Linked DNA regions of Homo sapiens: all the other regions are linked to region 3. The links are contacts of gene promoters, found by promoter capture Hi-C in blood cells and fetal thymus (Javierre and others, 2016). All regions are on one chromosome and are shown on one strand. Each heading gives the region's core, a stretch centred on a gene start or on the middle of the fragment in contact. The rest is flanking DNA. Distances are from core to core; before and after follow the strand shown. Region 1 overlaps RNF113A (ring finger protein 113A). Region 2 holds the start of WDR44 (WD repeat domain 44). Region 3 holds the start of PGRMC1 (progesterone receptor membrane component 1).

Evidence for each region. Contacts are between HindIII fragments. The CHiCAGO score rates a contact against its expected background, and 5 or more counts as called.
Region 1: a contact is called between a fragment that was not itself captured here and the fragment with the promoter of PGRMC1 in region 3, in 1 of 17 cell types (fetal thymus). The highest score is 5.8, in fetal thymus.
Region 2: the fragment with the promoter of WDR44 here is called in contact with the fragment with the promoter of PGRMC1 in region 3 in 3 of 17 cell types (monocytes, naive CD4 T cells and activated CD4 T cells); the score reaches 8.8 in monocytes.

The regions. Positions count from the first base shown.
Region 1 is chrX:119,867,971-119,871,648 of GRCh38, forward strand. RNF113A (ring finger protein 113A) reads right to left here. Exons shown (of 1, transcript NM_006978.3): 1 at 2,505-3,678. The coding sequence starts at 3,643. The coding sequence ends at 2,612. Among named protein-coding and RNA genes, the nearest start is that of RNF113A, 1.9 kb to the right of the region's middle. RefSeq lists an enhancer at 3,476-3,678. The HindIII fragment of the contact is 2,161 bases long and covers 323-2,483 here.
Region 2 is chrX:118,343,370-118,347,366 of GRCh38, forward strand. It overlaps WDR44 (WD repeat domain 44), which reads left to right and starts at 2,737. Exons shown (of 20, transcript NM_019045.5): 1 at 2,737-3,211. The coding sequence starts at 3,135. RefSeq lists enhancers at 1,968-2,087, 2,278-2,327, 2,869-3,412. The HindIII fragment of the contact is 5,332 bases long and covers 1-3,997 here.
Region 3 is chrX:119,234,597-119,238,200 of GRCh38, forward strand. It overlaps PGRMC1 (progesterone receptor membrane component 1), which reads left to right and starts at 1,689. Exons shown (of 3, transcript NM_006667.5): 1 at 1,689-2,095. The coding sequence starts at 1,768. It also overlaps the pseudogene NUDT19P6. RefSeq lists silencers at 1,412-1,461, 1,492-1,751, 2,152-2,301. The HindIII fragment of the contact is 8,490 bases long and covers 1-2,670 here.

The DNA of each region.
Region 1 (3,678 bases), core at 153-2,652, 630 kb after region 3:
GAGACAGGGTCTCACTCCTGTCACCCAGGTTGGAGTGTAGTAGCGCAATCATGGCTCACTGCAGCCTTGATCTTCTGGGTTCAAGGGATTCTCCCACCTCAGCCTCCTGAGTAGCTGGGACTACAGGTGCACATCACCACACCCAGCTAAAATTTTTGCTTGTTTTTTGTAGAGACGGGGGTCTCCCTGTTGCCCAGGCTGGTCTCCAACTCCTGGCCTCAAGTGATCCTCCCATCTCAGCCTCTAAATGTGCTGAGATTACAGGCGTGAGCCACTGCGCCTTGCCTCCGTGACACTTTTCATTTATTTCCTTTTCGTCCGAAGCTTTGTGTAGGACATGACACTTTTCCAAATGCTTTCCTAGGCCAGGTATGGTGGCTTACGCCTGTAATCCCTGCATGTTGGGAAGCTGAGGCGGGAGGATTGCTTGAAGCCAGGAGTTTGAGATGGGCTTGGGCAACATAGGAGATCCTATTTGAAATTAAAAGAAACGAAACAGGCAGGGCACGGTGGCCTGTAATCTCAGCACTTTAGGAAGCCCAGGCGGGTGGATCACATGAGGTCAGGAGTTCGAGACCAGCTCAGGAGGCTGAGGCAGGAGAATTGCTTGAACCTGGGAGGTGGAGGTTACAGTGAGCTGAGATTATGCCACTGCATTCCAGCCTGGGTGGCACAGCGAGACTCTGTCTCAAAAACAAACAAACAGTCATTATTTAATGTCCAGCTCCATGAGGGCAGGGGCTGTGTCCATCTTGTTCACTGCTAATATCCCCCATGCCAAGCACAGTGCCTGATTTAGAGTAGCTACTCAAAGAATATCTTTAGGCCAGGCGCAGTGGCTCATGCATGTAATCCCAGCACTTTGGGAGGCCGAGGCGGGCGGATCACGAGGTCAGAAGTTCAAGACCAGCCTGACCAATATGGTGAAACCCTGTCTCTACTAAAAATACAGAAATTAGCTGGGTGTGGTGGTGCACGTCTGTAGTCCCAGCTACTCGGGAGGCTGAGGCAGGAGAATTGCTTGAACCTGGGAGGCGGAGGTTGCAATGAGCCAAGATCGCGCCACTGCACTCCAGCCTAGACAACAGAGCAAGACTCTGTCTCAAAAAAAAAAAAAAAGAATATCTTTAAATGGATTAATGAATGTGAATAAAAACCACTAACCCAGAATTTATTCTTGCATCTGTTTCGTGGGATTAGCCCAAATTCTAGCCATATCAATAAAAATTTACTAATCATTTGGCCTAACTGGCCTCCCGGCCTCGTGTTCCATCTCCCTTGTGAGCCATCCTATAGCCGCAACCACAGTAACACTAAAACAAACAAACAAACAAAAAAACCCAAGTCTGATTGTGTTCTCTTCCCAAACCTCTGCTATCTCCCCCGCTGCCTACAGAATACAGTCAACGCTCCTCAGCTTGGATTCAAGGCTTTGGCCCCAATCTCCCTTTTTAAACCTCTCTAGGCTTATTTATTAAGTGCTTATTATATGCCAAGCACTAGGCTAGTCACTGAGTTCATAAACCAGTTGGAGAGACAGGTACATTGACTAATTTTAATAAGGTGTGATCAGCACTATTACAGAGACTGTGAGAACACAGATAGTTTCAGGTAATGGATGATAAAATATTGTTTTTGACCTCTGCAGGTTCACGAGTTCTGTCTACAATAGTAATGTCCAATACAGTGGTCAGACACATTTCAAGTGCTCAATAGCCACCTGGGGCTAGTGTCTGTCACACTGGATAGCTGAGCACAGATACTTTTATCACCCATGGACGTGGGGGTTAACTATAGCTGCTTCCAAGACAGCAAGGGAGCCGGGCTCGGTGGCTCACACCTGTAATCCCAGCACTTTGGGAGGCCAAGGCAGGTGGATCACGAGGCCAGGCGATCGAGACCATCCTGGCTAGTATGGTGAAACCCCGTCTCTACTAAAAATACAAAAAAAAAAAAAAAAAATAGCCGGGTGTGGTGGCATGCGCCTGTAGTCTCAGCTACGCGGGAGGCTGAGGCAGGGGAATCGCTTGAACCGGGGAGGCGGAGGTTGCAGTGAGCTGAGATCGCGCCACTGCACTCTAGCCTGGGCAAGAGAGCGAGACTCCGTCTCAAAAACAAATAAATAAATAAATAACCAAGACAGCAAGGAACATTTCCCATATGTGAAGCCTGTGGTGCTAGCTACCAGTTCCCCAAACACAACCCCTCTCCCCAACACCTTGGCTCGGGTATATTTTGTAGTACAGGCTCCCAAGAGAAAGAATGCATGAAAGTACTTTGTAAACTATTAAGTGATACAGAAATGTGATATAATAAACAGGCTCAGAGGTCTTGCTTTCATCATGGCTTTGGTTACTTCGAGCAAATTATAGCTCTTTTCTCAAACTACTCCCACCCCTATAATTTATGCCAAAGTGTTCTGAAAAGAAACACAGGCAAAATGGTTATCCTAGGGCTAAAAATCCTGATTATACCTACCTTGAAGCTTTTAATCCAGGACCCTACTTCACCACCCGCCTGCTCTGTCACTTTCTCTACAAAGGAAGGACACGAAGTAAGACTTCCAAAAGAACAAAACGTTTATTTTTTAAATTTAAGAATTATGGGAAACCTAAGTAATGGGAATTGCATCCTCATCGGGGTCTTCTGGCAAGTCGGAAGCACCACCCTCTCCTGTAGCTCGATGCTTCTCTAGTTTAGCAATCAATTCTTTCGCTGGATTGAAGACGCCATTGGTCTGCTGGTCACAGACATAGCAGCGCGGGGTGGTGCGGAAATGCTGCAGTGCACAGCTCTCGCAGAAATAATGCCTGCACTTGGTGACAACTGGGTTTTGGAAGCTCTGGCGACAGATGAAACACTTGAATGGTATTTCCTCATCATCGCTTCCCACTTCATAGTTTTCATCCTCATAGACACCATAGCGACCCTCATCAAGCTCACGTTCGATCTGCCACCCATGCTTGTAATCTGAACGGTCATGGAGGAATTTGCAGCTGTCTCCGAAGCCGCAGAAGCCAGTCTCTTTGTAGTCCTTACAGATGTCGGGCTGGTAATCCCAGCGCACGGTGGCACGTAGATGCTCGGGCGCTCGGATGGGGCCCTTCCTCACCATCCCGGAAGAGGCATTGCCCATAGACGTATCCTTGGGCTTCATGTATTTCTGATAATTGTTGATTCCCCGATAGATCTTGTCATCCTCCTTGCCCCTCAGCTCCTCCTGGATCTTCTGGCTGCGCTCAAAGATGGCTTGTGCATCGCGCTCTTTCTCTGTGTCCAGCTCATAGACAGCTGTCGCTCCCATATCCTCTGGTCCCACGGGTTTCGCCGAACGGGTGGATTTATAAACCACGCCGAGACTCTCGGGCTCATTTTCCTCTTCCTCTTCGCTGCTCAAGTCGCCGTAAGCCGCCTTCTGTTTACCACTGTCACGGGTCTTCTGTATCATTGGATTGTGGGTCACCCGCTTCTTTTCCGGTCGAACCACAGTGCAGCCTTCGTCGCTACTGCTGCCGCTTTCTCCGGGCTCTGGGTCGCAGGCCGGGCGCTTTCTGCGTCCAGCAGCCCCTTTCCGCCCAGGCTTTTTGAAAAGGAAGGTGCACACCTGATCCACCGCCTTTCCTGGAGAAAGCTGCTCTGCCATTTTAGAGTCCTGAGCTCCGAAACAGCCGTGGCTGC
Region 2 (3,997 bases), core at 1,487-3,986, 890 kb before region 3:
GATGGGCAGTATTTATATGTGTTTTAACGTTTCCAGCAATTCATTCTAGCAATTGGCTTTCTCATGCAATTGATAAAAGCATTTAAACGGAAACTTTAAAAGCTCTAAAAATGTTACCAGTTTATCATTCCTATCCATTTTACCTTTTTCTAAGTATAATGTTTAAGGCAGCTTAAAAGGTCCAAGAGAGCTGATATGGTATATTGAAAAAAAACAGAGCACCAAACTAGGACTCCGTATTTGTCTCCACTGCTAGATTATTAGCTTTTTGTAGGCAGAAACTTAAGTTGTCTTTTTCTGTTTTGTTTTTGTTGTTGTTGTTGTTGTTGTTTTTGAGACAGAGTCTCCCTCTGTCGCCCAGGCTGGAATGCAGCGGCGGGATCTCAGCTCACTGCAACCTCCGCCTCCCAGGTTCAAGCAATTCTCCTACCTCAGCCTCCCGAGTAGCTGGGACAACAGGCAAGTGCCACCACGCCCCCCTAACTTTTGTATTTTTAGTAGAGACAGGATTTTGCCATGTTGGCCAGACTGGTCTCGAACTCCTGACCTCAAGTGATCTGCGCACCTCGGCCTTCCAAAGTGTTAGGATTACAGGTGTGAGCCACCGCGCCGGATCTAGTTGTCTTTTTAATCTGTCAATTGTCCTCAGCATCTAGAACGCTTCATGACACCAAATTGTATATGTTTACTGAACTGAGCGACTGGTTTCCACACACGGCATTTTGTTTTTGTTGTTGCTGTTGTTTTTTGTGTGTGTGTGTGAGAGACAGGGTGTGGCTCTGCTGCCCAGTCTGGAGTGTAGTGGTGCTATCTCAGCTCACTGTAGCCTCAACCTCCTGGGCTCAAGCGATTCTCCCACCTCAGCCTCCACAGTAGTTGAGACCATAGGCACATGCCACCACACCCAGTTAAATTTTGAATTTTTTGTAGAGACAGGGTTTCACCATGTTGCCCAGGCTGGTCTGAAACTCTTGAGCTCAAGAAATCCGCCTGCCTCGGCCTCCCAAAGTGCAGGGATTACGGGCGTGAGCCACCGCGCCTGGAACTAACACCTCTATCATATAGAGAAAACTAACTTTTTTTTCTTTGGAAGCCATAAATTCACTATTAGATATCTAGGAAGAGAATACATTCAGGTAGTTAACATCTTTCCATAAATATATATTTCCCTACCTTATATCTGGTATCTTTCCATAATCCAAAAAGAAAACAAAAAAACCTATCTTAGTGAGCAAAACGTTTTTAAAAGTTAGTACTTTGAGTTACATTTTTATACCTAGGAAGTTAATTAACATGTTTAAGACACATAAAACCTAATAATTTTTAGGTTTGACAAAAGTCATACCCTCACAAGGATCCACAAATCCCTTGTCTCCAATTCTGAAACTTCAAAAGCTCTGGAAACCAAGTTTCTGTTTTTTTTTTTTTTTAGTAATTTATTTGACAGTCAAATAGATCTATCTTAAACTTATTTGGCAGAAGCGTCTGACTCAAACTGAATGAGGCTATTTACTTGTATTTATTTATCCCGTATGAACAATCATATATCTTGCTGCAAAAATATTAATATATTTGATTACGCAGTGTTTTCCCTAAACTCCCTGGGGTATTATAGAATATACAGTATATGACATTTGGTTTTTACCCAAGTCCACTAGACCACAGCAGACCTTGCCCTGATTGCTTGACAAAGTCTAGAGCCCCTTTCCAGTTTCTCTGAGACCATACCCCTGGCTCCAATCCAGCCTTTTCTTGAATACTAATTGAGGCTGCACGAACAGCTCAAAATGCCTATCATGATGTCAGTTGGAGAAATAAATATGCTGTGTGATCATACTGAAAGTCAATGTTATCACCTTGATGGTCAATGACCCGTGGTTTAAGAAGGAACATCTCGGTTTTTTAAAAAGTACCTTTCTATTTTTATCACCGGACGCTGGGCAGTTGAGGATCAGAATTAAGCCATTAGCTCGTAGGCTTGCAATGATATCTGCTCAATAAATATTTACCATTTAGCTGACGCACATCTTGGGCAGTATGTAAGAACTTCTCTCACACTGTGTTGGCAGCGACAGACATGTGCGGAGAAAAAGTAACCGGAGGCCTAATACTGGCTCAGCTCCAGCAATAAATCCATCATTACACCATGGAACTGGCACACTCCCCGTGTATATCTCAAGGACCCCACCCTCTGGCCGGCAGGATCATATCTAGGGATCTCAATTAGAGATCTCGTAGTGAATAAGGGCGAGTTATTCTCGTAACGCCAGAGGTGGTGGACCTGCCGACGCCCTAGGGTGGGACATTCCGGGCTTGGATAGTAAGACATCGTAAATATACGCCAAAATGTCCACACCAACGTTTCCCGAGAGTATTTCTTTACAAGTAAAAGACCGACTCAAAATCACCCCTCTCAAAACGCGTCTCTTTGGAACTGCAGAGTTAGGGAGTAAGACTTTCTGCCTGACCCCACCTACGTCGGCCGCGCGCTCTCAGAGCCAGGGCACCACGCTGCTCCTGCGCAGGTCCTAGACTCCTCCCTTCGGGAGGCTCACCCCCTCCCTTCTCGGCTACTTCCGGCCCTCACCGAACGCCCTCAACGCGCTTGCGCCGTTTTGATAGGCTTCTCGGGCCGAAGTAATCGGAGCGCTGCCTCTCTGGAACCGCCCCCGCCACCTCTTCGCCCCGCCCACGTATTACCGCCCCTCCGAAATCTCGCGAGGGTAGGTGCGCGTCGGTATTTTGCGGGCAACTAGCTCTTCCAGCTGCTGTAAATTGCTGCTGCGGGAGAAACTGGAGCCGCTGTAGCCGGCGCGCCCTTCTTCCCTTACTGCGAGGAGCCACCGCCTCTTTCGCGCTCCTTATACACCTATCACTGGGAGCGGTGGCAGCAACATTCCCTGGACCAACCGCCGCCTCTTCAGGCGGCCGCTTTGCCGGTCATTCCCGAAGCCCGGCAACTGAGGGCGGCCCCCTTTCCTTAACAGTCTCCTCGCTACAGATCGTCTGCTCCCTCAGCCTCGCCCGAGACCCACTTCCCCAGTCTCGCCCGGGTGGAGGTCGACGAGGAGGAGACAAGAGTCACCCTTCCTCCAGGCGGCGCCGGCCCCCTCACCCGCGGGTGTGTCCTATAAATGGCGTCGGAAAGCGACACCGAGGAATTCTATGATGCCCCTGAAGATGTGCACCTAGGGGGCGGCTACCCCGTGGGGTAAGTGACTGCAGCTATGACAGGAAGCCGGGCATCCCAAGCCCCCCGCATCTCCTGTGTCTTCCCCCTACACCCCTCCCAGGTCCCGCTGTGTCCGCCACCGCTGTTCCTCCCCGTCTCACTGGAGGACTTCAGAACCCAGACCTGGGGCTTCTTAGGGCGGGGTGACTCGGAGAAGGGGGAGTCAGCCACCTCGGGCAGCCTCCCGGCCGTTTCCCTACTGAACGGTCCCAGGGTCGGTCTCGGAGCCCGTTTCTCTTCTGATCCAGCCTTCTGTGAGGGGGAACAGCTTACGTGCCTGAGTCGGAGATTTGTATCTGTGGGGTTCTGAGCTTACCTTTCAAACATCCGTTTTGGCCTCGGGGACCGTAGATTAAAGGAGCAGTAACAGGAGAAATGTAACTTGTAGTTTTTTATTCTCCCGTTTACCGCTAACTTACCTATTCACTTCAGAGGTGGCTGTAACTCTCCCCTATTTGCCGTCCTCTTTTTCTTGCACACAGCGAAAAGGAGCGGGGGGAAGGTTGGGTATTTGCTTAAGAAAGTCCTCTAGCGAATGTACTCTAGATCAACAGTGTTTTATTAAAATAACACCTTATCGTGAGGTAAAGGAAATCGAATACACGGTCCCTATTAGGCAGAATGCGGTCTAAAAGGATGGCCAGACAGAAGAAATGTGCACAACTGACTGCAGAGGGACAAACAAGTGCTGAGTAATCTGGTGATTGGAAGGAGAGCCCCAGCTTTGTGTTCTTTATCTAATTCTGCAAGATGTTTTAGTGGTGA
Region 3 (3,604 bases), core at 439-2,938:
TTTTCTTTTTGTTACTAATGAGACTGAACATTTTTCATATGCTTATTCACCACTGGCATGCTCTCTTTTGTGAACTACCTGTTCCTATTTTTTCCCATTTATTGACTAGAATCTTATACATTTTCTTATCAATCCAAATGATCTCTCAAATAAATATTAACCCTTTGTCATATTAGTTGCAAATGAAAATATTTTATAAGTTTATTAGCTTTCTAAATTTTCTTGGCCATACATGTTAAAAGAGATAGATTCTAACTATAGACAAGTGCCCTCAGTTTGAGCCTGTTTCTCCATGATTAAATTGAAGAGTTTTGACAAAAGATTTGGAGGGGCTGTTTCAGCTAATCCCAAATTTAGCTCTGAGAAAAATGCCTGGGCCCGATACAAAGATTGTTTGGCTCATTGCACTTTATAATGATTTAAGAAGATGTGGGGGGCAGGGATGGAAGCAGTTTTTGCCAGAAATTTTTAGAATTCTGAGGTAGGAAGCCAATCTTTACTCAAGTCTCTTGCGTGTTGGGAGGAGGAGTAAGTTATGTGCAAGCCAACAGAACACTTGGTGGAAAAGTACTGCTCTGGGCTGCAGATGTGTGCACGGCTTGGTTTTAATTATTTGTTTCCCTCTCTATCCTTTCTTCTCCTCCCCTCCCCCCGCCACCAGAAAAAGGGCCAGATTAGGACGAGGCAACCCCTTCCTCCGTGGAGGTCTGCTTCTGTGCAGCCTGTTAGCACATCAAAGGCCGGATGAAATACCTAGGAAAGGAAGGGACCAGGCCTAGGATCCTTCCAAACTCCCGCCTTTGTCTGGGCTCCAGCTCAGGGTTATTGTGACTGCCAAGGGTAGCCTGACAGACTCCAAATAGAAGAACGCTGCCAAACAAAGAAACTTTCACATTATTCTGAGGGGGGAAAAAAGAGCAACAAGAGAACGTTGCTTGTTAATGCCTGGTGACTGAGCAAATCAGTAATTGCAAAAGGGTTTTTCGGAGAACAAACCCAAAGTTAACTGGGCGATCAGATTCGTTTCCCCAGATAATAGGGAGAGTTGTGCACTGACTTTAGCAATCCCGGGGGTGTCGGTCCCACAGCATCTGGGGGAGAATTGGGGAAGGGCCATCAAGGAGAGCGAATGGGGGTTCCCAAGGTGAAAATGAGTCGTGTAGGGCTCTAACATAGAAAATGGAGTTCGAAGAATGAGTTTCCTGTCTCCTAAGACAGCTTGGAGGGCCCGGGAACGGCAGGGGGAAGATGAGGGGCTTCAGAATGGGAGGCAGGGAAAAGCCTGCAGCAACAGAAAGGGAGTCGGTGTCTGGCGCGCATCAGGTGGCGGAGGGGCGCTCGCACAGAGCCCGGCAATGCCGAGGCCCTCCCAACGGGTCGGTCTGCGAGGAGCAAAAAAGGGGTTCAGAGGAGGGCAGCGCGTGCGTCGCGCTCAGCTATAGGATGGCGCGAGGATGGCGTGAGGCTGGGCTGGGGCCTCCCAGGTAGAACTGAGGGGGGCACCGCGCGGCCGCGGGGGAGCGGCGCCGGACTCTAGAGGCTTTGGAGGGGGCCTGAGGGCTGCGGGGCGGGACCGAGCAGGGCGGGGCGCTTAGGTGGCCTCGGGGGAGGCGGGGCTTGGAGGCTCCGCCCCTCAGGCCCCGCCTCCTCCCCGGCTAGTCTTTGGCCGCCGCCGAACCCCGCGCGCCACTCGCTCGCTCAGAGGGAGGAGAAAGTGGCGAGTTCCGGATCCCTGCCTAGCGCGGCCCAACCTTTACTCCAGAGATCATGGCTGCCGAGGATGTGGTGGCGACTGGCGCCGACCCAAGCGATCTGGAGAGCGGCGGGCTGCTGCATGAGATTTTCACGTCGCCGCTCAACCTGCTGCTGCTTGGCCTCTGCATCTTCCTGCTCTACAAGATCGTGCGCGGGGACCAGCCGGCGGCCAGCGGCGACAGCGACGACGACGAGCCGCCCCCTCTGCCCCGCCTCAAGCGGCGCGACTTCACCCCCGCCGAGCTGCGGCGCTTCGACGGCGTCCAGGACCCGCGCATACTCATGGCCATCAACGGCAAGGTGTTCGATGTGACCAAAGGCCGCAAATTCTACGGGCCCGGTACGCGGCCGGCGAGGGGGGCTTGGAGACAAAAGAAGGGGGCCCCGGCACGGGGCTGGGCGGGAGAGAGGCGAGGCGGGAGCGGGGCGCCCCTGAGTGGAGGGAGGAATGGCGGCGAGCTAGGGTAGGCGGGTAGGCGGGCAGGCGGAGAGCCGGGAGGCTCCCGGGGCGGGCAGGGAACAAGAGGCGCTCTAGAGGGGCTGCGGGCCAGTCAGGGACGCGGATCCCCGGCCCGCGCTGACAGCGCTGGGAGGGGGTTAGAGAAAGAAGGCTGAGGCGCTTAAGCCGGGGGTGGGTGGGACCACGAAGCTCGAAGGCGTTGAGGGGGGACACATCAAAGCCCAGGCTGTTGGGGTAGTTTTCGAAGGTCCTGGGCTTGGGGATTCCTGGAAGGAGGAGGGGGTAGTGTCGGGTTCTAGGAAGGAAATGAGGGTGTTCCGAGGGAGGCATGGGGGAGGGCGAGAGTGAGAAAAGGTCCAGACCTAGAGAAGACGGGAAGGCCAATGACACCGGGAGTAGGTTTGAAATATGAGGGTGTGGGAGAAAACGCCGAGACGGGATTAGCAGCAGGTAAAAGCTTTGTGCCCGGTGGATAGTGATGTGTGTGTGCACTCGTGGTGTGTGCATGCGCGGTGTGTGCGTGTTTAGTGTATGTGATTTATCAGGGGTGTGTGTGTGTGGTGTGTGCATGCGCGCTTGAAATGGGTCATGCGTCAGGTATGTGTGTGGCATGTGTTTGGTCTGTGTGCGCTTGTGCTGTGTGTGGCAGATGGGGAAAGGCTGGAAGGTGAACAAGGAGGAAGGGGGCTGTTTGAGGGAGGAATAAAGGCTGAATATGGTGGACAATGGTAACGTGGCAAGCTTTTAAGGTAATATGGTATTTAGTCTATAGCAGGAGAGAAAGGATTAGAAGCCAAGAAAAATTAAAATGGAGGGAGGGAGAAGTGGGAGGATACCAAGAAACAAAAGGAGTAGAGCTAAGAAGACTGCTGGGTGGGGGGATATCAGGAAAAGCCAACCAGAGGGAAATGAAGAATGGATGACTGCTGCACTGCTGAGCTGTTGGAGAAGGCAGGCCTGATGGGTTCCTTAGAGGCGAGGTTTTTGCAAACCTGGTTGCGTATCAGAATCACCTGATGCATCTGAGGAAAAATACAGATTCCCAGTCTAACCGCCAGAGCTGCAAATGAGTCTCGGGTGGTCCGGGAGTCTGTATTTTAATATGCTTCCCAGGCGAATTTGAAAAGCAGCCAGGCTTGCAAAGTCCTGCTTTATAGAATACTTGGAGATGAGGAAGAAGAGGTTTTGGCTCCTCCAATATGGACTCCTCTAAACACAGGGAGCTTAGAGGATGTCCACATGGACGGTGCTCATTCCACACTGGCCTGAGAGAGGGAAGAGTACAGAAGGCAGTACACAAACTCAGGCATTCATTTTAGTCTCCCAGTCCAACTGATCAAAATCAGATGTGTTAAGGTTAAGGAGCTCAGTTTTTTCTTGCAGACATTT